Linked DNA regions of Homo sapiens: region 1 is linked to region 2. The links are contacts of gene promoters, found by promoter capture Hi-C in blood cells and fetal thymus (Javierre and others, 2016). All regions are on one chromosome and are shown on one strand. Each heading gives the region's core, a stretch centred on a gene start or on the middle of the fragment in contact. The rest is flanking DNA. Distances are from core to core; before and after follow the strand shown.

Region 1 (5,487 bases), core at 2,531-5,030, 200 kb after region 2:
TAATCCCCAAACGACATCCTGAAATAAAAAAGAAAACAGAAAACAAGTTTTAAGCCAAAGTGCACCTAGTCTTTTAAACCCATGATCAAGAAATATGCTTTGCACTGTATCAAAACCTGTCTTTAGCATGGTTTGTTTTTCTCAAGATAGAAAATTAAAATAACTTCTCTTCAAGTGTAACAACAAACTCTGGAAAATTCAAAGATATGAGCAGTCTCAGGTAGTGAATATAAAATCAAAGATAGCATCAGACACCCTCCCAGTCAGACCTGACAAGCCCAATCCTGCACGACAGGGCCCGCAGGCCAGTGTCTGCATAGGGGCTCCACCTTAAATCACCTCTTACTTGTTACCACCAAATATGGTTCTGACTTCTAAAAAGTCACCTTCAAAATAAAGTCTGTTGTTTTTACATCTACTGCCTCTTGCGGTCGTAGATAAGTTAATTACCCCTCATCCTATTAAGTTTTCTTAATGATTTTGCATTAGTTATTTAAAGAATCATAGAAGATTCACAATTCAAGGATCAGAGATTTTCATTAAATAAAACTGAAAGCCAGAGTTGTTCTATCTGTACTGACCTGCCATCTGTGAATCACAAATTCATTCTCCATTTTCCTCTTCATCAACTCAAGAGTTTCGTCCTTTTTAGGCCTGTTCTCATGCTCCTCCCCTACTTTTTGCTAGTTGGTAATTTTATTTGCCTTTCTCTGTTTTCTCTAGTCCATCAATCCATCCACCCACCCATCCCTGACCTTCCGATGTGAGCCAGGCCTAGGGTTGGAGTGTGGGTGAAGGTGAGCCCTCAGCCTGAGGAAGGGGGATGTACAGATGGGCAGGTCAGCAGGCCAGCACTGTTCATGAGACGTGTTCCCCAGAGCACCCACCCTGGGAGGAGAGGCTCCAGAGGCAATGACAGCCATCTGAGCCCCAGGGGAGCAGGAGTCTGCCAGGGAGAGGGCTGGAGGAGAGGGCCGCCTTCCAGGTAGAGGCACGACCTGCAGAGGGAAAGTTCTGAGAGGGCAGGACATTTCTAGAGCGTGGGGAGAGGCTAAGAAAAGGCTGGGTGGGCTGCCCATGGTGGCAGAGACTACAGCTCGGAGGAGCTGGGTCAGGACTGCATGCAGTCTGCAGTGTTCCCTTATGCAGGGCCAGGGCCAAAAGCCCCTTCCTGTGCTGTTCCCCTAGGGTCCCTGCCTGATGTTAGGTACCCAACACCTGACAGTCTTCTCTGGCCATAGGGAGTGGTTTGCACATCAATTTGCTGCTCCTCCTCCAACACCTAGTGGCCAGAAAAGCTCAAGACATCCCTGTTGAATGAATGATGGCCATGAGGTTTCCTATGTGGCGGGTGGTTTGGCTGTGAAGCCTGCAGTTTGGGCTCCTATCTCTGGTTCTAGAATGGTGCCTGGCAAAGTCAACAAGGATGCTCATCCGGCCCAAACTGACCGAGGTCAGTGACTGGCTAAGTAGCCTAGGCAGCAGGGAGAAGAGGAGGCAGGGTGTGTCCGGCCACTGGTGTGGATGTGACAGGCAAGGACATGTGCTGCTTTCTCGGGAGGCTGGCTACTGCAGGGAGAGGACCACAGGGACAACTTATGATCAAGATCAAGGCACAGACTCTACCTTTAATGTTCTTGTGGGAGCCCAGCCAGTGCCATCAATTGAATGTTCTCTCAATAAACTGAAAAAGACAAACACACAGTGGTTAGTGAGGAGCAGCCACAGGTGCCCTGCACGCTGCCAACTAGTCCTCTCGGTGTGTGCCATGCAGGAGCTCTACTTTTTATTAAACCCATCTTTTCCTCTGTGGCTTCTCAGTTTTCTCTTGCTGAGGAAGGCATTTCCACCTCCAAGGTTATATACATATTCAATTATAACGTCTTGTGTTATGTTTATCTATTTGTTGTAATACTTGACATGGAAGTTTTAGGCTGAGGAAGAGCATGTTTAAAACAACACACAAAGAACATTTGTCAATTTAATATTCAGAAAATGACAATGGTGGCTGGGTATGGTGGCTCATGCCTGTAATCTCAGCATTCTGGGAGGCCGAGGCAAGGTGGGAAGATAGCTTGGGTCCAGGAGTTTGAGACCAGCCTGGGCAACACAGTGATACCCTGTCTCTACTAAAAATTAAAAATTAGCCAGGCATAGTGGTGCACGCCTGTACTCCCAAAGGTGGAGGACTGCTTGAGTCCAGAAGTTCAAGGCTGCAGTGAGCTGTGATGGCGCCCCTGTACTCCAGCCTGGGAATAGTGTGAGGCCCTGTCTCAAAAAAAAAAAAAGAAAGAAAGAAAGAAAATGACAATGGCAACAAAATGACAACATGACAACAGGAGTAACTGAAGCTTAGAGCTTATTATGTGTATGTCAGGCACAATCCTAGGTGCTGTGCCATTAAATTCACTTAATGCCTATAACCACCCGTGAAGAGAGCATCCCTGTTTCCCTGTCTTATACAGGAGGAAACCAAGGCACAGAGAAGACACGCCCAAGGGCACACGCCTCATGAACAATGTTGTTCTTCCAACCCAGGCAGCTCACGGGCACCGACATTCTGAAACACTGCTGATGCAGGTTAACAACAATGGGAGCTCCCAGCATATGACATTTTAATAACTGGGTTTTTTTTTTTTTTTTTGAGACGGAGTCTCTCTCTGTCTCCCAGGCTGGAGTGCAGTGGCACGATCTCGGCTCACTGTAAGCTCCACCTCTCCGGTTTTACGCCATTCTCCTGCCTCAGCCTCCTGAGTAGCTGGGACTACAAGGCATGCACCACCTACGCCCGGCTAATTTTGTTTTTTGAATTTTTAGTAGAGACGGGGTTTCACCGTGTTAACCAGGATGGTCTCGATCTCCTGACCTCGTGATCCGCCCGCCTCGGCCTCCCAAAGTGCTGGGATTACAGGCGTGAGCCACCACGCCCAGCCGTAACTGGGTTTTTTTTTTTATTTTTTTAAAGTTCAAAAGAAAAAGCTTGAGGATAAAAGATTAATGCAAAATTCTGAGTATCAATCACTCCTTAGGTGGGGGGCCCATGCTCAGGGAAGGCACACCAGGATTCAGAGGTCTGATGAAGCCCTGTTTCTGAAGCTGGTACCTGAGAGTCCTGGTCATTACTGTCTATCAGCTGTAAAGGCACACCATATACTCTCATGGAAATGATCATTCCAGTGCTCACTTCCGCAGCACATATGCTCAAATTGGGATGATACAGAGAAGATTAGCATTTTCCCAATAATCTTAAAAAGTAAAAAAAAAATTTTAAATAATTTTAAAAGGATTAAATGATCATTCCATACTTTGAAAAAAGTATAATTTATTGCCAAGCTTCCTTCTGGAGATAAAATTACTTTTGTATTTGTTGAATTATTGTGCTGTGGCTTTGATCTGTAAATAAAATATCAGGCTTTATCCATAATTGTTACCTCTGATAAACTTTTTTGAATTAGAGCATGTTTAAATTCACAAAAGTCAATTCAGATCAGGAGAAAAATATGTAGAGTTTGAATCAAAGCTATAATCTTAATTGTCTGTGAAGAGCAGTTAAAAAAAACAGATAACTAACCTTAAATTGACCATTAAAATTTACTTTTAGCCTTAAAAAGAAAAAAGGAAAACTCAAATCATGTATCCTACCAACTGGGTGGACGTCTTTCTACCCTACAGAGGTATTGGTGACTTGTGGATCTGAATTGTCAACTTCTGAATAACTTTTTTGGGAATGAAGTCAAATCCTAGTGGCTATATTTTGTTGAATGGAGGAATTATTTCTGATCTAGCTAATCATTTTCTTATATAGATCTTAATGCAACCTTCAGTTATATATTTGTCATTTATTTGTTGAATGCCTGTTTCATCCATAAAAGCAGGGAATGCTAATTCCTCTGCCAGTGCCTAAGCTCAATCAACATTAGCTGAATGAAGGAGAAGGAAGCTCACCCTGAGCTTTGCTGTTAACAGCACAGCCAGAGCAGGAGGGCTTTGCATCTGGCTGGGGCAGGTAATGGGGAGGCAAGGCCGGCCCCAGCATGTGGTGGCCACTGGTCTGGGCAGCAGTGAGGCCCATCAGGGGTGCAGTGCCTCCAGTCACTGAGGAAGTTCTAGCCTGGCCTCACAGAGGATAGTCCCAGCAACAGCTCAGGAGACAGAGACACTTGGCTATCAGAGATGTCATTAAGCAAGGAGACAAAGGACACCCCACGAACTGTAATAGAAGCTTGGACTCTAGGAGAAGCTTTGACTGAGCTCTTGACCTAGGCCCTCCAATCCCACAGACATGGAGCCTCTGACCTTGTGCCAGAGCAGGCGAAGGGTCCCTGCCGGGACAACAAGGTGGAGCCAGGGCAAATCTCTCTAAAAGAGGAAGGTGCTCCTGTGTGCCAGCACTGAAAGGCCTGTGGAGCCCCAGGCACCCATCAGTCCTGCTGTGGGAAGGGCTGATGAGCTGCTGTCAGCGTCACCACAAACCAGAGGTGCGGTTGGGCTTTTCCTTCCCTTTATTCGGGACACACCATAAAGCTGCCACTGGACACTGTCTGCTTTTCACTAACAAGGTGGTCCCCGTACATCAATCTGGCACATTATTTCCTTAGATTAAATCCCTAGAAGTGCAGCTGACAAGTCCAAGGGTACATACGAGTTACAGGTAGTCTACGTGGCTGAAGGACCAATGAAAGGTGTGCAAATACACACACCCTCCAACAAGAGAGCCTGCTCGCTCTCTGTCACACACTCCTCCCCCAGCCACCAAGTATCTACCTTTGTGCCTGCCAATCTGGTGAGTGGTAAGCCACACTTCATGGTCTTCTGCGCCTTTCTCTGGTTACTGATGAGAGTGAACATCTCCTCAGATATTTACTGCCCACCTCTATTTCTCCTTTTATGAATCACCTATTTGTAGCCAATGCCACATTTTTCCAGAGAAGTATCCGTCTTTTTTATAATGAATAGTAAGGACTATTTACATACCAAGGATGTTAATCCAGTTGATCATTTCTTCTTCCATTTTGTGTTTTTAATTTTTACATGGTCAAATCTGACAATCTTTTTCCTTAAGACGTCTGGCTTTTATATCAGGATACCATCTGTTCATCCTTATAAGGCTTTGCTAATCATCTGACTTCCCAGAAGACGGCAAAAGGGACAAGAGAGCTTCCTATTCTGGACCCATTTCTGACTAAGGCAGGGACAAGACAGGGAAGTAGAGTATGGCCCCCCAGAAAGTGAGCCAGGTGTCCTCACAAGCACAGGAGGAAGCGGGGCAGTGGGGGCCTGGGCCAAACACATTTATAACCTGCAACCAAAGATAGTGGAATTTTAATGTTTCAATACGTAAAGGACAGATACTTCAAAGGGAAGATGCTTTTTTAAAAAGGTATGTCTGGTAAAATGTATTTTTAACCATCTGTGAAAAACGAGGCTGATATTGAAGAAGGAGCAGTATATACAAAAATGAAATGGGCAAATGGGCACTAACTGTAC
Region 2 (5,568 bases), core at 561-3,060:
TGAAGGCTTCATATTGTACTTTTGTGTTTGAGGGGAGACAAGTGTTAAAAAACAAAACAAAAGAACCAAACTGTGACACCATGATCTTCTAAAAGGAGATTTTCTTAAGGAAAAAAATCCATATGGTGGGGTTCAAATTAAAACAAGGAATAAAGAATGTAGTTCTAATTCATGGCTTCCATTTTGAACATGCAAAGAACTCACTTGACAAGTCCAGGGATAAAATATTACAGGAGAAACCTTCTGATATCAATTGTAGTGTGTTGGTTTACCAATCAGGCAAACAGCAGTTCACTTTCAACCACTCAATATTTCAACCTTTCATGTAACAAAACTTATAAAATTCCTTTAGCTGTTCCTTTTTCTAAAGAAAAATGTCAAAAATACTACTGAATATACTCCACACTGAAGAAACCAATTTTGAAAATTCTTAGTACATATGTATTTTACAATATACTTACCATGAGTTTAGAAAAATTTGAATTCCAACCATTCTATACCAACCAACCACAACCCCACTGTCTACGTTCCCAGCCAGAAGACTTAGAATCCATGCTTGAGCCAAAGCCGCCATTAAAACCACTGCCCGACCCTGCATTGGATGCTGATCCCCAACCAATTGTTGCACCAAAATTAGAACCACTACAAGAGTTATTTCCAGAACCGAAGGCCTGGTTTGGCTCCCTCTGCATGTTGCCTTGGCTTTGGTTATCATCCGATGGGCCTGGCTGCTTCGCTGGCTGGCTAACACACCCATCGTACACCAACTGCTCTGCAGCACTGCCTGGGGGGCAGCCATCATGGCTGGATTAATGCTGAACGCACCAAAGTTTATCCCACCACCCATATTACTACCTTGATTGTTTCCCAAACCAGCTCCACCCCCTCTACTCTTACCAAATCCACCCTGATTCCCAAAGCCACCTGGATTACCACCAAATCTTCCACTTCTTGCTGTCTATTGCTATTGCGCTTGGGTTCGGCATTGGATATGTGAACGCTGATTCCTTTCATCGAGTCCTCTCCACAAAGAGACCGCGCAATCTGATCATCTGCAAATGGAACAAAGGCAAAGGCCCTGAACGGCTTGGGGACGAAGACATCCATCACATCCCCATACTGAGAGAAGAACTCCCACAGCTCATCCTCAGTCATGTCCTCCGTACGGCGCCCCACAAACACTTTTCTGCTTCTCAAAGGCTCATCTTGGCTTTGCCGCACCATAAGAACGTCTCCAAAGGTACTACAGTACTCTTTCAGGTCCTGTTCAGTTGTTTTCCATGGGAGACCCAACACTATTAAATCGGACTGGTCTTTTCACTTTCACTGCTGATGAAGCTTCTGTCTCACCCATTTTTCTTTTGTTATCTTTCGGATAGTTGACAACATACACCGGATTTCTCCAGCCAGCATCGGGGGCATGCAGAATTCCTTCTACCAGCCGGACACCTCTCATACATTGAGACACCGGATTCCTGCAGCGAAGCCCACACGCCCCTGGAAACTGGGCTGTAACCGTGGACAGCAGCACCGTCCCATCGTCTTCCGATGGTATTTCAATGGGCTCATCGTTCTCATCTTCGGTTACCCGAATATATTCAGACATCTTTTACTTTTCCACTAGGCCGCTGCTGGGAAGCCCGACAGGGACACCGAGGCAGCGACGGACCCAAGCGCCAGTGTTTTTTTGTTTGTTTGTTTTTTGTTTTTTTAAAGAGGCCACCACAAGTTGAGGCGGGACTACAACTCCCAGAGGCCGCCGCGGCCCGGAGGCCACGCCCCTTGGCGGCGAGCTCTGAGCCCTTTGCCGCATTTGACACTCGACATCCTCGTGCTTCTTAAAGCACTTGCCCAACGGTGAGCAACGGCCTCCAACGGTGCCCGAGGGACTCGCGCTGCCCGTTAAGCAGCTTTGCGGTGGCGGAGGCTGGGCTGCCGTCTCTCCGACATCCCGGGACGGAGGAAGAGATGAAGGCTCTGCAGCCCCCGCCGCCCGATTTACGCTTGAGAAAGCGAAGGCGAGAGAGGTCGTCCAGCCCCTGGGGGCCCAGCCCTAGAGAGCGGGGCGCGGGCTGCGGGGCCCGGCGGCCTGGACGGCGGAGCGTTGAAAGCTCCCCCAGGGATAGGAAGTGCAGCCGAAATCAACGATTGAGGTCAGTGAAGGAGCGGACGCTTGAGGCCTTGGAGGGGAAGCAGGTTTCTCCAGGAGGGAACCCGGGCCTCCGCTTTGCTCAGCGCTCCCCTCGCGAATGTGTTGAGCACCTGTTATGTGCTGGGGGTACAGAGGTGAGACTCACAAGGCCCCTGCATTGTCTTTAAGATCAGCAAGACCCCGCAGAGAACCCAAATCCAACGCGCACTGCCCAGAGGCAGACACTGGCATTCCTTGATAGACGGTAGCCAGGGAAGCCCAGGTCTTACTAGATTATTATCAGTACTTGGATTTGAATGTATCTGAGAGGAGGAGGGTTAAGGTTTAAGCTGTGGCTCAGAAGCCCCTCAGCTCTTCGTGGAATCTCCCAGGCTTTTCACTCTTGCATCCTCATGGAAAAATACTGCCCTCCCTGGGAAACCATGCTTTCTGTGCACACCTGCTCTGTTCCCATGTCGCTGTACTACCTATTGACCTGTCAATGGATGATGACACTTGGGGTACTATCCTCTCTCCTCCAGATCTTGCCCCACCTTAACCTTGAAAGAATATTAAATGCGCCCTTAGACGTCAGGAACCATCCCTCAAACCTTGCCATTCCTCTCTGTTGAACCTGCTCCAAATCTTAAGTGCCAACCTCCATCTTATCCACTTTATCCTGGGGAACTTGTCCTCACACCCCGTTGAGGTTTCTTACTTATTGTCCTACTGTTTTCTTCACACTCCAGTTTCTTAAAAACAGTCTTCATTCTCATTTTCTTCATTTCCTCATCACCTGTTTGTCCCTAACAAAATTTCAGTATGGCTACATTTCCTGCCATTCTACTATAGAAAACTTCTGCCAGAGTCTCCAATGAACTCCTGATTGCCGAGTAGACTCTTCAGTTTTCTCACCCGAACTTTGCGGCATTTGATACTCAACATCCTCATGCTTCTTAAAACATTGTTCTTGCCAGAGCACGGTGGCTCACACCTGTAATCCCGGCACTTTGGGAGGCTGAGTTAGGCAGATCGCTTGAGCCCAGGAGTTCAAGACCAGCCTGGGCAACATAGCAAGACTCCATCTCTACCAAAAATGCAAAAAATTAGCCAGACATGGTGGCCCGCACCTGTAGTCCCAGCCACTCGAGAGGCTGAGGTGGGAGTATCACTGGAGCCCGGGAAGTCAAGGCTGCGGTGAATTGAGATCACGCCAGTGTGCTCTGGCCTGGACAATGGGAGTGAGACCTTATCTCAAAAAATTGTTCTCTGTCTAGTCTTCTTGCTCTTCTTGTTCCACCATTCCTTCTCAGGTTCTGGCAGTGGCTCTTCACAACTGGATATTAAATGTTGTCTTTTTTTTTTTTTTTTTTGAGACAGGTTCTCACTCTGTCTCAGGCTGGAGGCTGGAGTGCAGTGGTACGATCATGGCTCACTGCAACCTCGACCTCCCAGACTCAAGTGATCCTCCCACCTCAGCCTCCTAAGTAGCTGGGACTATAGGCGCACATCACCATGCCTGGCTGATTTTTGTATTTTTTTTGTAGAGAGAGATGTTTGTAGTGTTGCCCAGGCTGGTCCAGCAATCCACCTGCCTCACTCCCAAAGTGCTGGGGTTATAAGCATGAGCCACCGTGCCCGGCGAATATTGTCTTCTTAAATATTGTGCCCCACATTTCTTTGCTAGGCCCTCTTCTCTAGCTTCTAGGCTGTAATCTGTATGATCTCCATGGCTTCACCTGCTGTGCTACCAGCTGCAAAATCTATTTCCAGCCCAGCCCTCTCTGGAGCTCTCATAGAGTTTATCCAAATGCCCCTGGCTGTCGCCTCTCAGGAATCCCACAGGTTCTGCAACAAGTTCAAATGTGAACTCAGCTTTCCAACAAAACCTGCTCCTCCCTTCATGTTCTGGATCCTTCAGAGCAACAAGGGCATCAATCCTTCAGGCTGGAAACCAGACGGTCCATGGAGACACCTCCCTGGAGCCCTGCCTGGGCAACCTTGACCTCCCAGGTTCCAGGGGACACTGGAGCCCTGCAGGTAGCGTCCAGGAACTGGCAATCCTGCCACTTCAACAGGTTGAACGAACAAGAGGATGAGTCTTAGACGTCCCTTTCCCCCTGTCCGGCTCCTGCATTCGTAGTTCAGGTTCTTGGCTGTCACCTGGAGAATGGCAGTGGTCATTAAGAAAACCCCCACCTTGAAGGTTACGCCCTGAGCTTCAGTCTTTTCAAAAGCCCAACACTGCAGATTCTCAAAGAATAGTAGGCCTGGTCCTCACGTGGGCCAACTCAGAACTTACTGACTGCCTCCACACCCCCTCCACCACCTTCTGTCTCCATGCCCTTGCCAGATATTTGGTTTGCTGCATGGCCAAAGCCGCTGCTCTGCCCTCTGCATGCCTCCAGGTTTGGCTCAGATAGACTGCCTGCCTGAAGCCTTTCCTGGTCACTCCTCGTTTTATGCAGTTTCCAAGGCTTCTTTTATTTCCCTGACGGCATAGTCCAGATAATGTTTGCTTGTTCATTCCACAGTTGTTAACTGGAGGCCTGCTCTTTGTCAGGCATTCTTCTAGTTGCTGGAGACAGACAGCATTTCTTCTCAAGTTTATGCTGTTATGGGCAGTTAGGCTGTTGGGTTGTTGTTGTCTTTTTTTTTTTTTTTTTTTTTTTTTTTGAGACAGAGTTTGTGCTTTGTTGTCCAGGCTGGAGTGCAGTGGCACGATCTCCGCTCACTGCAACTTCCTCCTCCTGGGTTCAAGTAATTCTTCTGCCTCAGCCTCCCAAGTAGCTGGGATTATAGGCGCCCGCCGCCACACCCAGCTAATTTTTGTATTTTTAGTAGAGACGAAGTTTCACCATGTTGGCCAGGCTGGCCTCGAACTCCTGACCTCAGGTGATCCACCTGCCTCAGCCTCCCAAAGTGCTAGGATTACAGGCGTGAGCCACCACGCCCAGCCTGTTGTCTCTTGATCCTTGAATACGCAGTCTCTGTCTTGTCTGTATTCCTGCCTCATATTTTCTCTCTCCTGCCTCTTTATCTCTTAAACCGTTGTCTCTTCATCCACATCATGGGAATGGCAGTAGTACCTACTTGTTTTGAGGGTTGAATGAAATAGCATGGAAAGCCGTTTTCTCAGTGCCTACTGTTGGTTGGAATTCCCTTTCTCTTTGTTTCCACCTCGTTCTCTTTGCGTCTTCATCCTCCCCTGCCTTCATATCCTTCTGTTCCCCATCTCACCAGCTCTCTCTTCCTCTCTCTGGCTCCCTTCCTCTCTCCTCTCTTCCCTGTCTCTCTGCCTCTCTCTGTTTCTTTCATTCTCTCGTCCCTGTTTCTGTCTCTTCCTCCAACCCACTTTTGCTGGGCTTTCCCTGCCTCTGCCCCGCCTTGCCTTCTTTGTCTTTCTCTAGCCTCCCTCTGCCTCTACCTCCCTCTCA

Evidence for each region. Contacts are between HindIII fragments. The CHiCAGO score rates a contact against its expected background, and 5 or more counts as called.
Region 1: a fragment that was not itself captured here is called in contact with the fragment with the promoter of LINC02610 in region 2 in 2 of 17 cell types (M1 macrophages and total CD4 T cells); the score reaches 6.5 in M1 macrophages.

What each region holds. Positions count from the first base shown.
Region 1 is chr2:238,026,753-238,032,239 of GRCh38, reverse strand. It overlaps UBE2F (ubiquitin conjugating enzyme E2 F (putative)), which reads right to left. Exons shown (of 10, transcript NM_080678.3): 7 at 1,627-1,684; 8 at 1-18. UBE2F-SCLY (UBE2F-SCLY readthrough (NMD candidate)) reads right to left here. Exons shown (of 19, transcript NR_037904.1): 5 at 1,627-1,684; 6 at 1-18. It also overlaps the pseudogene RNU6-1333P. Among named protein-coding and RNA genes, the nearest start is that of SCLY, 32 kb to the left of the region's middle. RefSeq lists an enhancer at 3,529-4,142. The HindIII fragment of the contact is 889 bases long and covers 3,336-4,224 here.
Region 2 is chr2:238,227,919-238,233,486 of GRCh38, reverse strand. It overlaps LINC02610 (long intergenic non-protein coding RNA 2610), which reads left to right and starts at 1,810. Exons shown (of 3, transcript NR_026926.1): 1 at 1,810-2,153. It also overlaps the pseudogene TARDBPP3. The HindIII fragment of the contact is 6,584 bases long and covers 1,341-5,568 here.